Linked DNA regions of Homo sapiens: region 2 is linked to region 1. Evidence: promoter capture Hi-C in 16 types of primary human blood cells and fetal thymus (Javierre and others, 2016). All regions are on one chromosome and are shown on one strand. The core of a region is centred on a gene start or on the middle of the fragment in contact, and the rest is flanking DNA. Distances in the headings are between cores, read along the strand shown. Region 1 holds the start of HSD3B7 (hydroxy-delta-5-steroid dehydrogenase, 3 beta- and steroid delta-isomerase 7). Region 2 overlaps ITGAM (integrin subunit alpha M).

Evidence for each region. The method cuts DNA at HindIII sites, captures the fragments that hold promoters and counts their contacts. A CHiCAGO score of 5 or more calls a contact.
Region 2: a fragment that was not itself captured here is called in contact with the fragment with the promoter of HSD3B7 in region 1 in 1 of 17 cell types (neutrophils); the score reaches 6.2 in neutrophils.

What each region holds. Positions count from the first base shown.
Region 1 is chr16:30,981,853-30,986,456 of GRCh38, reverse strand. It overlaps HSD3B7 (hydroxy-delta-5-steroid dehydrogenase, 3 beta- and steroid delta-isomerase 7), which reads right to left and starts at 1,250. Exons shown (of 7, transcript NM_025193.4): 1 at 1,160-1,250; 2 at 633-804; 3 at 253-408; 4 at 1-34. The coding sequence starts at 798. It overlaps SETD1A (SET domain containing 1A, histone lysine methyltransferase), which reads right to left. Exons shown (of 19, transcript NM_014712.3): 18 at 2,685-2,822; 19 at 1,793-2,607. The coding sequence ends at 2,434. RefSeq lists an enhancer at 1,269-1,781. The HindIII fragment of the contact is 29,451 bases long and covers 1-4,604 here.
Region 2 is chr16:31,268,336-31,272,490 of GRCh38, reverse strand. ITGAM (integrin subunit alpha M) reads right to left here. Exons shown (of 30, transcript NM_000632.4): 6 at 1,407-1,537; 7 at 499-644. Among named protein-coding and RNA genes, the nearest start is that of ITGAM, 10 kb to the right of the region's middle. RefSeq lists enhancers at 158-683, 684-1,209. The HindIII fragment of the contact is 3,863 bases long and covers 496-4,155 here.

The sequences.
Region 1 (4,604 bases), core at 1-2,500:
GTCTGCACACAAGCCTCGATCACGTTCCGGGTACCTGGCAGAGGAGGAGGCGTATCCAAGCTGCAGCTTCTTCCCTCTCTGCATCTTCCTCCTCCCCATCCCAGGTCCAGGGAAAACCATGACAGGTCAGGGGAGGCGGGGGCAGGGCTGTCAATAGGACAACTTGTCCCAGGGGAGTCACCGGAGGTCAAGGCCAAAGACAGAGTGGGGAACAAACAGGCAAGATGGCCAGGAGTGTCCAGAGCTCCTCACCCTGCACGTTGACCTCATGGATGGTCTTGGGACTGGCCCTGCCAAACACGTCTACCAGCCCAGCCGTGTGGATGACCACATGGGCTCCGGCCACAGCTGCTGCCACCTCATGGGCCTGGGTCACGTCCCCCTGGATGGCAGTCACCCTCACAGGCCCTGGCCGGGGTTGGAGGACACAGGCCATGTCAGAGCTGGGGCCAGAGGCCAGAGGCTGGGTTCATCTTCCACCCTGGAGTCACGTTCCCAATGTGACTCACTCGACCCATCCATGTGGACAGAAACCAGCATCATCTGTTCCACTGCAGGGGTGGGGATCCCAGCTTGGGAAGGGTTGGGGAAGCGTCCACACCCTCTCCACCACAAGCTCCCCCAACAAGAACCTGTCTTCAGCTCCTCCAGCCAGGGACCCAGGTGTTGGTCAAAGACCCGCAGCTCCCCGAGCCGGGGCTCCCGCTGCAGCAGCATTCGCACCACGTGCTCTCCCAGGAAGCCACAGCCCCCTGTGACCAGGTACACCAGCTTCTGGGCCTGTGCAGAGTCGGCCATGCCTGGCTGGGGAAGAGACCTTGGCTCATCCAGGGGCTGGCTGCCACCTGCTGCAACCACCTGTTACTGCTGGAGGTGCCCTGGAGCGGTGACGAGGCTGGCGTTTGCGGGGAGGGCAGAGCTGATCCTGGGAGCTGCAGCAACCAGGCCACCTGCCGTCTGCCCCTGCTGATGGCTGAGTTACGGAGAGAGGGGCGGGCTTGGGGTGCAGGAAGGGGTCAGGGTTTAGGGAGAGAGATTTGAAGGCAGTAAAAGGGTGGGGAGGCCAGGAGTTGAGGGAGGTGGAGGGAAGGTTATAGGAAGGTGGGAAGGGCCGGATGGAGGGAAAGGCCACCTGGGCACTGGCAGCGCCTCTGCCTACCTGCAGCCGCTATCCCAGGGTGCCCAGACTGGCCTGGAGGGGCCCTCTTCTTTCGTCCAGGGCTGGCCGGCCCGCACACCGTCCTTCCGCTGGCTCCTCCTTCTCCCTCCTGCCCCATTCCAGGAACAGAGACCCGCCCAGCCACAACCCCCACCACTCTTGCCCCAAGGCGCCCCCTGGCGGCCGCTCTGTGCTCCACTGGCATCTGGGTCCAGCGGAGAACTTGGTGGGGATGAAGCTCGAACTTGCAGAGTGGGCTGAAGGGGTCTGGGGCTGTGGGTGGAGCCAGCGGTGACCTCATCCCACAGTGTGACCTCAGGCCTTCCCTCCTGCTGGGCTTCCCAGGAGGCCGGAGGTCCAGCTGCAGCTGTGATTGTAGGAAGGGGAGGCCTGACCTTGGCACCACCCTGGCGGGCACTGGTGGGGTATTCCTGGTGCGGGTGCGGCTGCTGCAGCCTGTCAGGGGGTCCGAGACAGTCTCGGACTGTCTCTGCAGGTCTGGGCTCTTGCCTGAAGGCCCCTTTACCTGCCCCACACTTCAGGTACCCACTTTTCCCTCTCTTCAACTTGCACAACCCTCCGTGCCCTCTACCCCCAACCCCTCGCTCCTGCCCAAATACACCGACCAAACACTTTTGTACAATAAAGTTTAATCACAATTATAAAAATGTGGCGTCGGGTTTGCGCTATTAACATATGTACAGTCCAGCCCAGCAAAAGGGACCCACCCCGCCATCCTGGCCTGGCTGAGCCGGGGAGTGACACCAGGGTGGAAGGGTGACCCTCAGGGTCTGGCAGGAACAGATGAGGCAGGGTTCCAGGCACGGAGTCCCCAGGACTGGGGGTGCAGAGCCCCCCCAGGGGGAGAACATGGCCACTGCCCCAGAGACCCCTAAACTGGGGAGGGGTACACGCAGGGCGTAAGGGGAAGTCCCCATTAACACAAAGCAAGAGGACTGTGTAGCCCCCCAGGACAGAATCTGTACAGGCCGGCACCCCAGGTTTCCACAGGAAACAGCTGCTGGCTGCTACAAAACATTTACAGCTTCTTCTCCGCAAAGAAAAACAATCAGGGGGTGGTGGGCAGGGGTGACAGGAGAGGCAGAAGCTGCCTCCAGGGACTGAGGCTCCCTCGCTGGGCTTGGGGCCCCCAACCCCACGCTTGGAGATGGGGGCATGTGGGCCCTGCTGAGCCCACTAAGGCTGGGGGGGTGCTGGGAGCTCAGGGCACCAGGGGGAATAAATAGGGGTGTGGGCACCCATCCTGCCCCACCTCAGTTTAGGGAGCCCCGGCAGCTCTCTGTGCCACACAGACACGGGATCTTGTTGTCTTCCAGTGGGAACTTGTAGTCGTAGGTGATCTCCTCGTCCACGCCAATGGGCTGCTTGGAGTAGATCACGATCTTCTTCTGGGACTCGATGGTGATGACCTTGGCGTAGCAGTTAGGCTGCGGATGGAAGGGCGTGTGAGCCGTGGCCACCCCCACCGACCCCCAACTCCTGCCCCGGCTGGCCCCTGGCGCACCGTGCAGCAGTGGTTGATGAATCTGGCCAGGTTGCCACACTTGGTGGCATCGATGATGGTGTCGTGGTCCACCCGGAACAGGTAGCTGCTGCCAATGCCCTCCTGCACGTAGCGCTTCTCCCGCATGTCGGCCACCATCTGCCAGGGTGAGATGCGATGGTCAGGGAAGAGTCCCCCACTTCCTGCCCCTGAGCACGCCTGCCAGCCAGCACCCCAGGTCCACGCCCACCAGGCCTGGAGCTGCAGCTCTGCCTCCAGCTCCCGCTAACCCGGCACTGACTCTCTCGACTCTGCTTCCAGGAGCCCTCCCTCTTTGGGGCAGCATCCTAAGCCTCTGGTGGCCATTCTAAGTCACCCGCAGGGAACTCCAGGGAAATCTGCACTGGGTAAGAGAGCCACTGACTCCTTCGAGCATCTGCCTGGTCACAGTGGGGTCCCGGACTGCTGGGGCAAGTCTGGGGTTGGGGCAGCTCCTGAAATGACTGGCCATGTCACCAACGGCACCCTGCTCATCTCTCCTCCCTGGACCTCTCTCCAAAACAGGCACCTGTTGGCTGCCACCGGCTAATGCAAATGGCAGGCCGCCCATGTCAGGCCCCGCACCTCCGTGTGAGGAGCAACCCTTACTTCCCAGAAGACAGTGAGGAGCCTCTGCACGCCCTCCTCGGGTGACCTCACTCCCTTCCAGAGCCTCAGCCGCCAGCTATGTGGTGGGGACTCCTCCCAAACTTCCATTTCCAGCCAAAAGCCACCTCAGTGGAGCTGCTGGGCGTCATCCCCTAGATGTCCCTGGGGCATTGCAACCCCACATGTCCAGACTGGAGCTCATCTTGACCATATATTTGTTCTTCCTCCTCACACCCATCTCACTGGCCCTCCCATCATACTCCCAGCAGCTAAGAGCAGCACCGAGAGAGGGCCTCCCGTCCCCCTCACCCTCTCACTGCTGAGCCCAGCCAACCACCTTGCACCCAAAGCCTCCTCTCTGTCACCTCTGCTGCCACTGCTTGGGTCGGGCCACCCTTGCCTTTGCCTGGATACTGGTGTCAGCCTAGACATGGAGCTCACTAGCCATGGGGCCCTCTCCTGCGGAAGGACCCTCTCCTGCGGAAGGACCCTCTCCTGAAGAAAGCTCCGGGACTTTCCTCCTCTCTCACCACAGGCCCAAGTGGATTCACAGGCTCCCAAGCCCGTGCGGTCTGGGCTCTCTGTTCCCTCCAGCCACACGTCGCTGCCACTGACCCTGTTTTTTCTTTTCTTTTTTTTTTTTTTGAGACGGAGTCTTGCTCTGTCGCCCAGGCTGGAGTGCAATGGCGCGATCTTGGCTCACTGCAACCTCTGCCTCCCAGGTCCAAGCGATTCTCCTGCCTCAGCCTCCCTAGTAGCTGGGATTACAGGCGCCTGCCACCACGCCTGGCTAATTTTTGTATTTTTAGTAGAGACGGGGTTTTAGCATGCTGGCCAGGCTGGTCTCGAACTCCTGACCTCAGGTGATCTGCCTGCCTCAGCCTCCCAAAGTGCTCGGATTACAGGCATGAGCCACCGCGCCTGGCCATGGCCCTGGTTTCTAATGAGCCAAGCTGACCTCCACACTCTCACAAGACGACCGTGCCTCCAGGTTTGTGCACATGGTGTCTCGCAACCAAGCGCACACACACTACCACTTGTCTGGGCCTGCGAGCTCCTTTCAGCTTTACTCAAGCACCATGGTCTCTGGAAGGTCTTAGGCCCCCCAGGTGTGTGTTCCCATAGCCCAACTCCCCAGATCTTGTTAAGATCTTGTTAATACCAAATGCCATCCTTTTGGCTTTTGTTTTTTCTAGAGACACGGTCTCACCCTGTTGCCCAGGCTGGAGTGCAGTGGTGCAATCTTGGCTCACAGCAGCCTCCACCTCGTGGTCTCGAGTGATCCTCCCACCT
Region 2 (4,155 bases), core at 1,178-3,677, 280 kb before region 1:
AAAAAAAAAAAAAAAAAAAAAAAAAAATATATATATATATATATATATATATATATATATATATATAGTTAATTGGCCTTCAGGAAACCTCTCCCAGAGCACTGCACCAGCTCCCCAGCCCCTCTAGGACTCTCCAGTGCTTCTTGTACTTCTGTCCCAACCCCATCCTTGCCTCTACACCCACCTCAAAATCAGAGTGAACTTCCCAAAATGAGACATGGCGATATCTCACCACAGGCTGTAAAGCTGCCTTTGGCTCCCTGGCCTGAGCTGATCTTTGTAGCTTCCCTCCAGACACCTTTCCCTCACTTCCCCACTCCACTCCCACCTTTCACTCACAACTTGTCCTTTGATGAACACACCACGCACAGCCTCCCCACCTCTGCCGGTGGGGAAGCATCCTCTACCACCCCTGTCTGAACGGCTCCCTTCATCCATCAAAGCCCAGCTAAAAGTGTCTCCTCCTCCCTCCATCCTAAGGGAAAAGGGGAAGCTTACACCACTTTGCGGATGCCCGTGGCCGTGTGTGTCCGCCCAAGCAGCTGCGTTATTGGCTTCACCAGTGATCTTGGGTTAGGGTTGTTCTGGAACTCTTTGAAGGTAAAGTGAATCCGGAATTCTTCAGAGTACTGCATCAAAGAGAACTGCGGAGGGGGCGGCTGGTGTGATGCTGGAGAAGGTGCCCCCACCCCTCAGACATCTCCCAGCAAGCTCCACGAAGATCTTAAACACTCCACTCTCCAAATTCCTCCTCTGTGCTGCCCCTAATCCCCTGCCTCACCAGGACGGAGAGCTGCCAGCAGCTCCCATCTCTCCTCAATACTAGAACACGGCCAGCGGCCGGGAGCAGTGGCTCACACCTGTAATCCCAGCACTTTGGGAAGCCGAGGCGGGTGGATCACCTGAGGTCAGGAGTTTGAGACCAGCCTGGCCAAAATGGTGAAACCCCGTCTCTACTAAAAATACAAAAACTAGCCAGGCATGGTGGCATGCGCCTGTAATCCCCGCTACTCGGGAGGCTGAGGCAAGAGAATTGCTTGAACCCGGGAGGCGGAGGTTGCAGTGAGCCAAGATCACACCACTGCACTCCAGCCTGAGAGAAAGAGTGAGATTCTGTCTCAAAAAAATAAGAAATAAAAATGAAAATAGAACTCAGCCAGCAATGACACGTGGGCTTCATCTCCCATGCCAACCTTAACAATTAGAGCTGCCCGCTTTATAAAAGGCTGAAAGAATGCTGAGGCTGCATCCAACAGAGCAGAAAAGAGACTCAGGAAGGCAAACCATAATCGATCGTCAATTTGGCAATGTCTGCAGTTGAACTGGGAGGAGAACATGGTGGCCCGGTTGCCATGTATCTTCCAGCCCCGTGTGGGCTCTTCCCTAACCTACCCCTGGGCCCTCACCAAGGTTTTGGACTTTTTTAATTGCTCCATCACAGTTGAGACAAACTCCTTCATCCGCCGAAAGTCATGTGGGATGATGCTACCAGAGCCATCAATCAAGAAGGCAATGTCACTATCCTCTTGAGGACACCCTGGGGAAGGGGAAAAGAGTATGAATCAAGTAATTTGACACTTGGTGTTTTGGGTTTTTTTGCATGTCAGCCCTCTGCTGAACAATGAGAATATAGGACCCCGTCTCTATAAAAAATATAGATGTTAAATATATATATAAATTATGTATAATATATATATAATTTTTAACGTGTGTGTATATATATATATGTATACACACGTTAAAAACATATATATATATATATATATATATATATATATATATATATATATACACACACACACGTTAAAAATTAGTCAGGCATGTTGGCACATGCCTGTAGTCCCAGCTACTCAGGAGGCTGAGGGTGGGGGATCACTTCAGCCCAAAAGGTTGAGGCTTCAGTGAGCTATGATCACGCCATTGCACTCCAGCCTGGGCCACAGAGAAAGACCCTGTCTCTTAAAAATAAATAAATAAGTAAATAAACAAGGACAAAGTGGTATGGAAAATTTTCGTTAATTCTGCCCAAGGGAATCAGGGAATGTGGTGATGTTTGACTGAATCTTGAAGAACAGGAAATAATTTGCCCAGCTGGGCGAGGTGGCTCACACCTGTAATCCCAGCACTTTGGGAGGCTGAGGCAGGTGGATCACTTGAGATCAGGAGTTTGAGACCAGCCTGGCTGACATGGTGAAACCCTATCTCTATTAAAAATACAAAAAGTAGCTGAGATCGCACCACTGCACTCCAGCCTGGGTCACAGAGCAAGACTTCGAAGAAAAGGAAGAAAGGAAGAAAAAAAGGAAAGGAAAGGAAAGGAAAGGAAAGGAAAGGAAAGGAAAGGAAAGGAAAGCAAAGGAGGAAGGAAGGAAGGAAGGAAGGAAGGATTTGCCAGATATACAAAAGGAGTAGATTCTAGAAAAGGGAAGGGCACACACATATAAAGTGATGTGGAATGTGCTCCTCTGCCTTCTGCCCCATCCCCAAATCCACTTTCTACCCATTGCCGCTCAGCTCTGTGGCCTGGGAGGTCAACCTGCAGGGACCCCATCACCAGGACTCTGTTGCCCTCTGGATTCCCATTGGATTTGGCAGATGAGGGGGCTCAACAGAAGACTAGAGGGAGGAGGGCAGTGAGGTCCGGGTGTTCTCCCATTGAGGTTGTTTGGGGACAGCTATGTCCTTCACAAAAGACCAACTGTTCCTCAGAAGGAAGCCAGCTCCACATGACTCTCTCCAGACCCTGGTGAGCTCTCCCTCTCCTCAACCCATAAACCCAGGGGTGGCAACAGACCTGCTTGCCCAGGGCTTGGAAAGTCCCTGATGGCTCCCTTAGGCCTGTCACAGCTTTATAATTACTCCCTTTATAAATAAACCCCCCTCTTTGTAAATAAATCTTACTGAAACCGCCTTTGCAAAATTATGACTGAGACAGTGAAAGAGATCTAACTTAACTGATTCCATCTTGCTTCTAACCTCCAAGCTGTCCGTGTTCATTCCTGGGTGTAGGCTGAGCTAACTTTGGGAGACACTTAGTTTATAGTTTATAGTTTATAGTTTAAACAAAGATCGTAACAGCCCTTTCCCAAAGCAGACCTCCTTCTTACCTGGGGACTAGATTGCCTTTGTAGGACTAACGTTAGCCACAAGATGAGAAATTATGATTTAGGAGTCATGCAGCTGGAGGCTACAAGATTCTGACCCTCCCTAAACTGCTCCTAAAATCAGTGCTTGAGATATTTTGCAGACCTTGCACTTGATGGATCAGCTGGCACTGCCCAGATCAATAAACTGGTTCATCCGATCTTGCTGCCCCCACCCAGGAACCAACTGAACGCAAGAAGACAGCTCCGACTCCCGATGATTTCATCCCTGATCAATCAGCACTCCCAGCTCACTGGCTTCCCCCGCGACCTACCAAGTTATCCTCAAAAACTCTGCCCCCAAATGCTCGAGGAGACTGATTCGAGTGATAATAAAACTCTGGTCCCCTGCATAGCTGGCTCTGTGTGAATTATTCTTTCTCTATCGCAATTCTGCTGTCTTGATGAATCGGCTCTGTCTAGGCAGCAAGCAAGGTGAACCCCTTGGGCAGTTACATTACTGGAATGTGCTTTTGGTCCCAGTTGAGACTCCTACTGATATATGGGACAAGGGCCTCAAAAGGATTCTGGCAGAATCCAGGAATGCCGTTTGATGGAAACAGCACTACAGGGACAAACGTATGTGACGGCGATGGAGACACAGCGGTGGCATCAAGCAAAGAGCAGCGGGCAAGGGCCTTTCTACTCCAATAAGGAGCTCGACTTTATCTGTAGGCAATGGGGAGCCACAGAAGGTTCTTAGAAAAGGAAGTGAGATGATTTGTTTTGTATTTTAGAAAGACTGGCAGGGCACAGTGGCTCATGCCTGTAACCCCAGCACTTTGGGAGGCCTCCTGAATAGCTAAGACCACAGGCACACGCCACCATGCCTGGCTAATTGCATTTTTTGTAGAGATGGGGTCTCATTATGTTGTCTAGGCTGGTCCCAAACTCCTGGCCTCAAACAATCCTCCTGCCTTGACCTCCCAAAGTGCTGGAATTACAGGTGTGAGCTACCGCACCCTTTCGAATTTTGAACCAAGTGTATGTATTATATATTTTTTAATAAATG